2 separate regions of the Homo sapiens genome follow, and region 2 is linked to region 1. Evidence: promoter capture Hi-C in human tissues and cell types (Jung and others, 2019). All regions are on one chromosome and are shown on one strand. The core of a region is centred on a gene start or on the middle of the fragment in contact, and the rest is flanking DNA. Distances in the headings are between cores, read along the strand shown. Region 1 holds the start of MPV17 (mitochondrial inner membrane protein MPV17). Region 2 overlaps ZNF512 (zinc finger protein 512).

Region 1 (2,777 bases), core at 174-2,673:
AACAAATGCAGGTAGGTCACTGCATTACCTCTGTGAGGTTAGTACTCAATCACTGCATTTGGAGTGACTGGTATCTGATCACTCCAAATGGATCAGGATGGAGTGATCAGATACCAATATACTAACCTTGGAGATACATATTTAGGCAGTAAATGATAACAAAAGCAAATGAACGATATAAACAAAACTCAGGAAATTTTGGGTGAATTACGGAGAGGCACTCAAGAGGTCTCAAAGCTGATTACTGACACAGGAGTGTTCAGTTTTAATGCCATTTAAACTGTACATACACATCTTAATCATTCTTTTGTATGTTTCACAATAAAAAATACCAAGAAAAACTGGGGTAAGAGTCTTGATTCAGCACTTATTAGGTGTGATCTAATGTGGACTCAAGTAACCCTCCTAGCTCACACACCTTTGTGGGGGCCCTATGCCATAACGTATATGAAAGTGCTTTGCATACGGTAAAATGTTTTCCAAGTTGAGGCCTCCTGGGGCAATGCCTTTATCCTTCAGGGCTGACTGTTCAGCTTTTTGAGGACTTTGAAATCCTAAAACCCTACTGCACAGCTTGGCCAACTACGCATACCCCTTAAAAACAGCCTTGGGGACCACCCTCCAAAACAGACTGGGGACAGTGTAGGATGAAAGACAGCCAACCCTTCAAGAGAGCCGAATAGAAACAGGAAGTGAGGGTGGTGCAGTGGGGCAAGCCTCTGGCTTCCAAATCAGTCTGCCCTGGTCCCACTCAAGTCCTAGAGGGACACTCACCAGCTGTCAGGACCTGTACTTTCCACGGGTGAGCGGCCAGGGCCCGCTGGTATGCCCGCCAGAGTGCCATGCTTCCTGTCAAGCCAAGAGGAGAGGGGGTCACCCCCACCGTCCCTCTCCACGACTAAGAAGCCGCCTGACATTCCCTTGTGCCCACTCCCTTCCCCTTCCCACTTCCAATGTGACTTAAAGGGGCAGAGGCCACATGAAGGATGCTTCCCAGACAGCTTCCTGTCGCAGGAGTCGCCTTAGACAATTGGGGAAGAGAGAAAGGCTGTGGGAAGCTATGGACTCCTGGTAGCAGCCACCAGCCACCCCAACCTCATTCCTGAAGCCAGACCACCTGGAAGCCTCCGTTCCCGACGGAGACACTCATGAGGACAGCTTTGCTCTGGCTTCTACCCAGAGCTTGGGTGCCTCAAAAGATAGCTTGGTCCGTCTCCAGATTCAGACTTGGTTGGAACCAGTTTGTAACCTTCCTGAGTCCAGCTCCAAACCGAAAATAGGGCCCGTCACTGCCCGGATATAGGATGACCACACACCTTGTGGGCACTCATGGCTTGCGACGCTTTAAGCCAGAGACCGCAGATCACCCGCCACTCACCTGAGCGCCGAGCCTCCCTCCCACGTGACAGGCTGGCCTAGGAACTTCCGCCACAAGTCCCGCCCCTTCCTCCCAGCGTCCTTCGGATTACGCAGCCAGGACAGGAATGGGGGTGGACCGAGCCATGAATACCCGTGGAGAGCGGCCTAACTCGGCCACCCACTCTGTGAGAGACCCCTTTTCCAGCTGGACTGTGCCGGACCCTGGTGTGGGGCCCGCCAGCCATATTTCTCACCTAAGTTCGACCCTCTGCCTCCTCCTGCCCCTTCTCTCCGCGCGAGACCCGGGCCTCTCTCAATCCGGTAGTCTCATTGTTCAGCCCACCCTCCCCGCATAACTGGCCATAACTACGATCCTTGTCTCAGCAATCGTAGTTAGGGAACTATAAGTTATAGTTAAGTGCGTGTTTTGTCTCTAGGTTCTTCACTGGCCTCAACTGTGAGCTCATGAGTGGGTAAAACTGGGGTCGTTCATATTTGTCGTCCTCATAGCAACTATTTCAGTGCTTTGCCGCAAACAGCCACTTAAGAAATACTGCGTATGTATGATTCTTCCACAGAAAGCATTGGAATTAGAACCTCAGAAGACATTAGGTATTGGCTCCCAAACTAACGGGCTGTGCAGCCTTGGTCATGACTAGACTTGATGTTAAGGCTCTGCATCTGTAAAATGAGGGAGGTTACACTATTGACTTTCCAAACTCGGCTCCTCAGTTCTAGGGATTTTTCAGATGTTTGTGTGTGGGGATGAGAGGGGCAGCATTACTACAGCTGCTTCTCCAACTTTTTTTTCCAAGTATATACTTCTCAAAAGACCCATTTTTAACGGGGCCCACAACTGCATGTTTGAAAACCAGTAAGCTAGGTGATTTCTTAATCCCCTTCCAGCTCTAACATTCTAAGAGTCTGTGAATATAGAGCAATATCCTTTCTAGAGCGTTGGAAATGTCTACAATATCCCTGGCAATGGACTTGTCAGGCTGGCAGGCTTTACTTATCTCCAGGGAGCCCACACGTCAGGAGGCACACTCTTTCAGGCTCTCCACCTGCCCAGCTCCACCCCCAATTTACTCAATTCCTTTATGATTAAGGCAGGGAGACTCCTGCCACAAATCCTGGAGAAACAGAGTAAGGAAGCAAGAGAAGTCAATGTCACAAACATTTAACTAAAATGCTATTTGCAAAACAGCATGCTAGAGGAGTGAACTGACAAAAGTAAATGTAATAGGAGACCAAATGTGGTAGGCTGTAAAGTTATATTCTGAAGTTAGACTGAGTTCAAATCCCCAGCACCACCACTTACTAGTTATATGACCTTGACCTTTTACAGACAGCTTACCCTCTCCAACTCTTTTATCATTAAGTAAAATGGCAATACCTACCTCATACAAGTGACACAT
Region 2 (2,777 bases), core at 165-2,664, 300 kb after region 1:
CACTTTTCTCCTCCCTTAAAGGCTTACTTTAAAGCAAATTCCACATAAAATTTCAGCTGTAAGTGCTTCTTTCAATATATATCTGTAAGAGATAAGGACTTTTGAAAACATATGACCACAAACATCATTATACCTAAAAAAGTTAAGAATTTTAATATTATCATATGTCTAGTTATTATTTAAATTTCCCTGATTATCTTATAATGTTTTTTCAGAGTTGATTTTTCAAATTAGGATCTAAAACAAGGTCTAAATATTGCATTTGTTTGTTTTAATCTAGAGCAGCACTATCCAAAAAAAGTACTGTGAGCCATGTATATAATTTAAAATTTTCTAGTAGCCACATTAAAAAAGTATTTTAAAAGATGAAATTAATGTTAATAATTATTAAGCCCAATATATCTAAAATTATTTTTAACATTAAATCAATAAATTATTGAGATATTTTACATTTTTTTCATAACAAGTCTTTGAGATTTGTTGTATATTTTACATGAAAGCATATCTTAATTTGTTCTACTCACATTTAAACACATCACTTACCATATGTGGCTAGTGGCTATCTCATTGCATGGTGCAAGACTAAAAGCTTCCTCTTCTTTTTTACAAATTTGCCATTTATTGAAGAAACCGGATCACTTGTCACATACATGTACCCACATTCTGGAATTTTGCTGATTGCACCCTATGATAGTATTCCTGTATTCTGGCCATTTCCTTTTTTGCTTTTTGTTGTTGTTGTTTGTTTTTGAGGTACAGGGACCACTGCAGTGGAGTCTTGCAGTGGGGCAGAGAGATTGGGCTCAACTCCCTATTCTGGCTTTTCCTATGAATTGGTAGATTTAGAAGATTGAACAGATCACTTGATAAGATTGAAGTTCTTTCTTTTTTGGCAAAAATACTTCATAATTGGATTTCATGTCCCCTACCCCTTAATTTTTTAAAGTGAGCCTCGAAAATGTTAAGTAATTCGCCCATGGTCACGTATCTAGAAACAGAGCTGGGATTTGCACCCAGGGGGTCTGGCTGCAAAATTTATGCTCTTAGTTACGATGCCGTCATGGAATAAAAATCTCCTATGGCTCAGTGTGTTACATCTCATGATGAGATTTATACTCAGGAGATATAAGAGTGGGATGATGCTAAGTAAACAGACTTTGTAGATCATTTATTAAAGTCCCTAGAATTACGCCTTACAAAATATGTGCTTGTAATAGCTGCTCTGTGTTGGATTTCTCCATCTTAAAATATAGAATCCTGAGGTATGGTTCCATATCTGTTTCCTTCTTACTGTGTTCTGCCCTAATCATGCCTTTTTTCCATTCTTCCTCCACCTTTCTTTATGTTCTTCACTATATTTTCGACTGGATGACATTTCTATTTTGCCTCTCTAGGACTGGTTCGTTGTAAACCCAACAACAACCAAAAGCTTTGAAAAGCTGATGAAGATAAAGCAGCGGCAGCAAGAAGAAGAAAAGCGGAGGCAGCAGCACAGGAGCAGAAGGTCTCTAAGAAGGCGGCAGCAGCCTGGCATTGAGCTTCCCGAGACAGAGCTGAGTCTTAGAGTAGGGAAGGATCAGAGGAGGAATAATGAGGAACTGGTAGTGTCAGCCTCCTGTAAGGAACCAGAGCAGGAGCCAGTGCCAGCACAGTTCCAGAAAGTAAAGCCCCCAAAGACTAATCATAAACGAGGAAGGAAATAGGCAGTCAGTGTAAAAGTGCTCCTAGGAAAGCAGATGTGATGCTGTTGTCACGGGGACCTGTGCTGGGAGGACTGAGTGAAGATTCTTTCAGCTGTTTGTGTAAGGCTGTGACTTTCTCAGCTCCTTCCTCCTGTGTAAATTTCACTGTCTTCCCTTCTTACATTTTGATTCCCCCCTCCCCTTTTAGTAGGTTTTCCTGCTATTCCTCGTCAAGTCCTCTTGTTTTTTTATCTTGCCCAAAGAGCTCCCTCTCAAGGCCAACTATAGGCTCCTCTTGCCCTGTACAAAACTAAGAAACCTCTTTGGTTGTCCTTTCCTTCCTGGGGTATAGAATGTTCTTGGAAGCTCCATTGATTTAGTAGCTGCTCCATCATCTAGCTTGTGAAACCATTCCAAACTAATTTTTTAAAACCATAACTGATTTGTCATTTTGTATTTGTGATATAACAAGTCTAGAAGTTAGAACTGTTGTCATTCACATAATAAGATTACTCTGTCTCCTTGGGAAAAAAACTTTATGGAGGCTGTTTGTCCTCTCAATATGGTTTTAAGATTGAAAGTAAGAAAACGGATTTAGGATGAAAACTCTAGAACTACCCTATGCTGTTTATACTGGGAAATGCTTTGTACCAAGTAGCAGTGACTAGACCCACAGACATGAAAAGCAACCTTAGGAGTAAAGTGACCCAAACATTAAAATGACAGGAAAGAGAAAGTAGAAGCAGCAATAAATACTGCCCCAACTTTCCTGGAGCCCGAGGCCTCATCCATAGCTATGATCACTTGCCCTCTGAAGCTTATTTTTGCTTCTTTGGTTTTAAGAATTGAGAAATATCACATTGCCCCTGATGTTTTGACAGTCTCCTAGTGCTCCTGGTAGTGCCACTAAGGGAAAACCAAGGTGCGCATTCCTTCTCCCTGGACTTTACCTTACTTGTTAGTCTACGCCCCACTGTTTCCACCCATCCCCTTAGCCAACCTCTGTCTTTTTGAATTTTCTGAGAATATTGTCCTATCCTCTTTTATATATGGAGTTCTCTCCTCTTTATATCCTGAGACTTTGACACCAGATGT

Evidence for each region. The method cuts DNA at HindIII sites, captures the fragments that hold promoters and counts their contacts. A contact is called where the count stands out against the background at its distance.
Region 2: a fragment that was not itself captured here is called in contact with the fragment with the promoter of MPV17 in region 1 in 3 of the 25 tissues and cell types used here (adrenal gland, spleen and stomach).

The regions. Positions count from the first base shown.
Region 1 is chr2:27,321,674-27,324,450 of GRCh38, forward strand. MPV17 (mitochondrial inner membrane protein MPV17) reads right to left here and starts at 1,424. Exons shown (of 8, transcript NM_002437.5): 1 at 1,379-1,424; 2 at 775-849. The coding sequence starts at 844. RefSeq lists enhancers at 819-868, 879-968, 979-1,028, 1,079-1,138, 1,261-2,233. The HindIII fragment of the contact is 20,851 bases long and covers 1,119-2,777 here.
Region 2 is chr2:27,619,759-27,622,535 of GRCh38, forward strand. ZNF512 (zinc finger protein 512) reads left to right here. Exons shown (of 14, transcript NM_032434.4): 14 at 1,395-2,777. The coding sequence ends at 1,703. Among named protein-coding and RNA genes, the nearest start is that of CCDC121, 7.9 kb to the right of the region's middle. The HindIII fragment of the contact is 6,428 bases long and covers 1-2,777 here.